2 separate regions of the Homo sapiens genome follow, and region 1 is linked to region 2. The links are contacts of gene promoters, found by promoter capture Hi-C in blood cells and fetal thymus (Javierre and others, 2016). All regions are on one chromosome and are shown on one strand. The core of a region is centred on a gene start or on the middle of the fragment in contact, and the rest is flanking DNA. Distances in the headings are between cores, read along the strand shown.

Region 1 (2,986 bases), core at 474-2,973, 1.3 Mb before region 2:
GGGCTTCCAGGAAGGAGACTAAGCCTCATTTCGGGTTGCTTATGGCCAAAGACAGGACCTGTGTACTCTGTCCTCTGTCCCTCACTGCCTTCCCCCTGGGCTCAGGGCCAGGCTGACAGCCAGTCTTGGCTCCTCTGGGCAGCCCTTGCTCTGTGTGTGCCCCGGGGCAGAGGCCATAGTCCAGGCCCAGAGGCCATAGCTGCCCTCCAGCCCTACACCCTGACCCACTTTCCTGCGTCTCTCAGTACACCCGACCTTGTCTTTACCTGTGCGGGAAGCTCCTCTATGGTCCACTTAGTTCCCACCCACCTTTAAAAAATAAATAGAGGCCAGGCACAGTGACTCACGCCTGTAATCCCAGCACTTTGGGAGGTCGAGGTGGGCGGATCACAAGGTCGAGAGATCAAGACCATCCTGGCTAATATGGTGAAACCCTGTCTCTACTAAAAATACAAAAAATTAGCTGGGCGTGGTAGCATGCACATGTATTCCCAGCTACTCGGGAGGCTGAGGCAGAATTGCTTGAAAGCTGGGAGGTGGAGGTTGCAGAGAGCCGAGATTGCACCACTGCACTCCAGCCTGGGTGACAGAGCAACGCTCCATCTTAAAAAAAAAAAGAAAAAAAAATTAAATAGAGAAGTCAGTCATGATGACGTGGGAGGATCACCAGAGGCCAGGAGTTCATGACCAGCCTGGGCAAAATAATGAGACCCCTGTCTCTTAAAAGGTTTTATTAAAAAAAATTAAATAGAGAAGCTAGACATGAAAGGACAGATATTGTGTGAGTCCACTTATGTGAGGTGCCTAGAACAGTCCAGTTCATAGCAGCAGAAGCAGTGGCCGCCAGGGATGGGGAAACAAGGTGGGAGTTGGGCAGCTTGTGTTTCATGGGTAGAGTTTCAGGTTGGGATGATGGCAAAGTCCTGGAAATGGCTGGTGGTGACGGCTGCACAGCAGTGTAAATGTGCGAATGCCACTGAGCTGTATGCTTAAAAATGGTTTTGATGGTAAATTTTAGGTTAGGTCTATTTTACCACAATAAAAAGCTAGGAAAAGCTGGTAGAAAGAAAGAAAAGAAAGGAAAAGAAGACAAAGAAGAAAAGAAAGAAAGAGAGAGGGAAAGAAAGAAAGAGAGAGGGAAAGAAAGAAGGAAAAGAAAGAAAGAAAGAAAAAGAAAAGAGAGAAAGGATGAAAAAATATTAATTTCTTTCTCAGGCAATAGTCCAGATTTTGTATTATGAAGCTTGTGTATCAGCTCTGCCCTATGAAGTCCTTGGGATACCAGGCTCCTTCCTCCTTTCTGCCCCACCATTCCTTGGATGTAGCCCTTGACCTTTTAATCGAGGTTGGAGGATGAGGAGAGAAAAGGAAGCAATGGCCTAGAAACTGCCATTGAGCACATGCCTACATCCCATTGGCCAGATGTCAGTCACATGACCACACCCACCTGCAAGAGATGCTGGGAATTGAAGTCTCATTTGTGGGTAGTCATGTATTTAGGCAAAATTTGAGGACTCCATCACCTTGGAAGAAGGAGAGAATAGATAGTGGGGACAACTTAGCCATCTCTGCTGTCATCCCCATTTGATCTCTCAATGGTCAGAAACCACAGAGGAGAAGGAGTGACTCCCAGAACATCCAACATTCAGCCTCCCCTTATTACTCTTCATTCTTTTTCATCCTTAAAGAATCCTTCTGGCCACTCCCACTAGGCATTGTCATCTCCCAAGAATTACAAACTATCCATGGATTCCTTCATCTTACAAACCTACCTGCTTCGTGGTAGGCACTGTATTAGGTAAGGGGACTAGAAAGATAGAGGAGGTGCAGTCTTTTCCCTAAGGAGTCTTCAGTCTAGCAGGCAGGAGTAGAAATGTGGACCAACTGTCCTGAAGTGTGACAGTTGTATAGATAGACATTTGAACAACATATGGTGGGGTATTAAAAAAAAACAGTTAACACTAAACTCAAAAACAGATAAGGGAGGGATAAGAAAATGCATCATAAAGGAAGTCTGCCGTAAACTAAGTGTTTAAAGTTTGGTTCATTGGATGGAGGGGACAGGACAGAGTCTCTGTCTTTCTCCCTCCTTTTTTGCTCCTTCCCCCATGCCTAATATGCTTTGTATAAAACCACCTGTATGCAAAACAGATCAATCCAGCTACTATCCTATTAAAAATATAGTGCATTGGCTATAAGCTTAAGTTACTAACTTGCATATTCATTTACATGGCAATTCCTGTAACCTTGCCTCTTAAGAAAACTAGACGAAATAAAATTAATTACCAAAGGCAGCCAGCAGCAAAAATATCCAAACCTTAATTCTAGGTACAAGCTACAGAACATGGCACAAAGTGGACTGTGGTGGGGGTCTGTAGATAAGGTGAAGCAATAGTTTTACATCAAAAAATTATTGGGTTCTATACAAGTGCAATCATAAATGAGGCATTGGAATTTGGCTTCACATTGACTAAACTGTTGAGCCATGGTTCACTCATTAACATTCTGTGTTAATGATATTCTAGTTATCATTAAAAAAGTAAAGGTGAAACTGAGAAACTATAAGCAATAAAACTTGGTGTTTAGGAGAAAATAATTTATCATCCATAATATATAATTTTGAAAGATTAAAAACACATTCATCTCAATACAAAAATTCAATAATGCTTGAATTACTTCCAACGTGTTCATCCAAGGTGAACCTTCACATTTTTACAAACTCTTTTTCTTTATGAATTTTTGTTGACTAAGAACAAATTTTTTTCATTTTCTGAACTTCAAAATTATGCATTTTTCTATATGCTATACACATGAAACTTATGCTTCCTATGTATTAATTTTACAATTTTAAATTCCTTGGAAGATATCTTGTTTTTAAGTATTAAATTCAACTTTATTAGCATGTGTTCATTATCTAATAAAACAAAATGAACCATAGAAAGCAGGGATCCCCAGACTTTTTAAATAAAGAGTCAGGGAGCAGACA
Region 2 (3,150 bases), core at 360-2,859:
AATTTGTAAAGGATCCTTTCCCGAGTAAGGGATTAGCTCACCCCTCTATAAGCTGAAAACCTTTTTGTAATTCCTGGGGAATGAAGAGCCCTAATGACTTTTTTTTCTTTTTAAAGGAAAAGGGTTACAAGAGGTTTCTACTGCTGGGCTAAGGCCCTGGTGGCTTCTGGTAGCTATAAAACCACGAACGTTAGGTAAGGATTAGAGAAGAAACCCAGAGTGGCTGTGAGTCAAGAAAAGACATCAGATAACAGCAATTATTTTACCATTATGTGACACGTAATACTAATGTTCCTACCTGAAGATAAAGAGCACAATTTTAAAATCTCCGCTCCTCCATTTCCAAAATCCAACAGCTGCTGGTCCCCCTACCACTTAAGCCATATTCTGCCCTCCAATTCGGCTGCGCAGCCTGCATTAGAGAAACACCAGGCAAGTGGGCGGGGGAGGGGGTAATGGGGAAAACGCCCGGATGCTGAAAGATACCTAATACTTTTCTGTTCCTACTCACTGCCTGCGGTAGTTTTAACTACTTAAGCCGGTGTCCAAAACGGAGAAAAAACGTCTCAGTCCTGCCTTATCGCGACCAGGTACCAGGTGATCAGAAATCAACACGAGGAGGCTGGCTGTCCCCACACAAGCCCCGGAGCCTAGAACGATGAGGCAAGAGGGCTGTTGGGCAGAGAACGTGACCTTGTTTTCCAGGCCAGGACTGTCTTGTGCTCCCCTAACCCCCTGTAATGCAAGAAAATTACTGAATAGCTTCTGAACCTTTTCGTCCCAAGACCAATGATATGAGAGCCAAAGTCAACTTCATTAAAGGAGAACCAGCCAAGGCAGAAATCGACTGGGTTTGCGCAAACCTCACCGCACAGCACAATGTCCCTGCGTTCTTAAAGGCAGCCAATCCATGGCCCCGATCTAACCAGTCTCGCCCACAGGGGCCCTATTTTGTGCACCGCAACCCACACACGGTCTCAGCTGCTGAGACCGTGTGTGGGTTGCTGAGTCACTGAAGACGGCGGCTCGGCCCCCAAAACGCCGTCAGCCCTGAAGTGGGGTTCGGGGCCCAGGCATACGGGGTTTTAAAAGCTCTACAGTCTGGACGTCCATTGGCTCTGGCACTGAAGGGCGTTCAGGATTAAGTAATTCTCGGAACCTCCCTTCTCCAGAGCCGCCTGGGCGCCCCAGGGAAGCCATCTCGACTACCCGCCCCCGCCCCCGCGGGCCCTTCCCCTCCCATCCCCTCCGCTCCTCTACACTCACGGGGACCCTGTCCGGATATTTCTTCCGGATCTTTTCTCCTTCCTTTTTCCGATACTCAAAGGGATGGTCCTCCTTGTACTGGAACTTCATGATGCACCGCAGGGCTTCCGAGATCCCCGCGCGGGGCCTGCCTCCTTCGCCGCTGACCCTGTCCCGCTCCCTCAGCCGACGTCAAGGTGTGCTCAGAATAGCTGCAGAAACGTCCGCTCCGGGGGCAACAGCGCTGGGCCGAGTGTGCAGGGGGGGTTCGGGGCGGGGATCTCGGGTGAGCCTGCCTGGAGGTAGAGGAGAGCCAGATGGAGAAATACCGGCGGCTTTTCGCTAGAGCTGGGAGCACAAAAACAGCTGGGTGGCGCGTCGGGCTGTGACGTCACCCCGCGAGCCCCGCCCCGCCCCCCATGCGCCAGGCGCCCAGGGCAGGGGGTGGCCGAGCGCTCTGTCTCACTGCGTTTCCTTTCTGGCTAACCTTTTTCACAATCGATGTCACTGCAAACATCAAAACATTCGAGTTATGTTTTATTTTGTGACTGTGAAATTAAAGATGGTTTTAAGACAAAAAAAAGATTTAAACATGTTTTATTCCCCCTCCACTGTTTTTCTTGGTTGGGCCCCAAAACAAATACAAAAGGCGAAAATCCAGCCTTTTCCTGCTGGTTGGGATCCAGCCTCAGGAGAAAAGAGGGCCAGGCCTCCTGGGATCCCTTTGGCCAATGCAGAGCTGTCCCGTGCTTGCACCGTGCCCTCTGCGCGTTCCGCTGCCCCTCCCGCGGCCCTCCTCCCGCGCTGGCGTCACAGTGTTTGGGCGGTGCCGCAGTTCGCTCCTGAACAGCAACATAAACAGAGCGTGACTCAGGAATCTGAAGAGAGGAGTCAGATGAAGGACACGGAGTGTAATCAAAGTCTAAAGGAGACATGATGTCAGTAAGGACTACCGAGGGCTTCACGTACAATCAAATATAGAAATGATTCACTTTCTAGCCGGGCGCGGTGGCTCACGCCTGTAATCCCAGGAGGCCGAGGCGGGCGGATCACCTGAGGTCAGGAGTTCGAGACCAGCCTGACCAACATGGAGAAACCCTGTCTCTACTAAAAATACAAAATTAGCTGGGCGTGGTGGCGCATGGCTGTAATCCCAGCTACTCTGGAGGCTGAGGCAGGAGAACCGCTCTAACCCGGGAGGCGGAGGTTGCGGCGAGCGGAGATCACGGCGTCGCACTCCAGCCTGGGCAACAAGAGCGAAACACCGTCTTACAGAAAAAGAAAGGAAGGGAGGGAGGGAGGGATTCACTTTCTGCCATAAACTCAGAAAGGGGGCTCGTCTTCTGGAAAAGAGAGTATCAAGCAATTTAGGTGATGACCTCAGTTGTTCCCCCACATCTTATTTAGTTCCAGTGGTTAGGTATCCCTCACGTGACTAGAAAGCGCTGCCTGGAATGCTAGTAGAAGATTGGGCATTAGGGCAGGTGAGGCGAAGCCTCGTTCTGGATTTCCCCACCTAGAGTCAAAGAAGAAAGACCTTCCAACCAGTACTGTAGGGCAGCGACAGGGAGGACTGTGGAGTTTGCAAAGAAAAAGAACAGTGAAAAGGGGCTGCGTTGCCCATACAAGTCGGGTGAGTTCTGATAAATATTAGATAACAGCAGCCCCGTGGCCTATCTTCTTCAGTCGGGGTCTCAGTGTCTCTAATTTTAAAAACACCCACAGGGGGCCAGGCGCGGTGGCTCACGTCTGTTCTCCCAGCACTTTGGGAGGCCCAGGCCGAGGATCGCTTGAGCTCAGGAGTTCAAGACCAGCCTGGGTAACATGGCAAAACCCTGTCTCTACAGAAAAAACAAAAATTAACAAGGCATGGTGGCGCGCTCCTACAGTCTCAGCTACTGTGGA

What was found. The method cuts DNA at HindIII sites, captures the fragments that hold promoters and counts their contacts. A CHiCAGO score of 5 or more calls a contact.
Region 1: a fragment that was not itself captured here is called in contact with the fragment with the promoter of GABARAPL1 in region 2 in 4 of 17 cell types (naive B cells, total B cells, total CD4 T cells and 1 more); the score reaches 8.0 in naive B cells.

Annotation. Positions count from the first base shown.
Region 1 is chr12:11,494,797-11,497,782 of GRCh38, reverse strand. No RefSeq gene overlaps it. Among named protein-coding and RNA genes, the nearest start is that of LINC01252, 52 kb to the left of the region's middle. The HindIII fragment of the contact is 956 bases long and covers 1,246-2,201 here.
Region 2 is chr12:10,211,336-10,214,485 of GRCh38, reverse strand. GABARAPL1 (GABA type A receptor associated protein like 1) reads right to left here and starts at 1,609. Exons shown (of 4, transcript NM_031412.4): 1 at 1,267-1,609. The coding sequence starts at 1,356. GABARAPL1-AS1 (GABARAPL1 antisense RNA 1) reads left to right here. Exons shown (of 3, transcript NR_170310.1): 2 at 117-432; 3 at 524-837. RefSeq lists a silencer at 1,477-1,736 and an enhancer at 1,830-2,372. The HindIII fragment of the contact is 15,130 bases long and covers 1-3,150 here.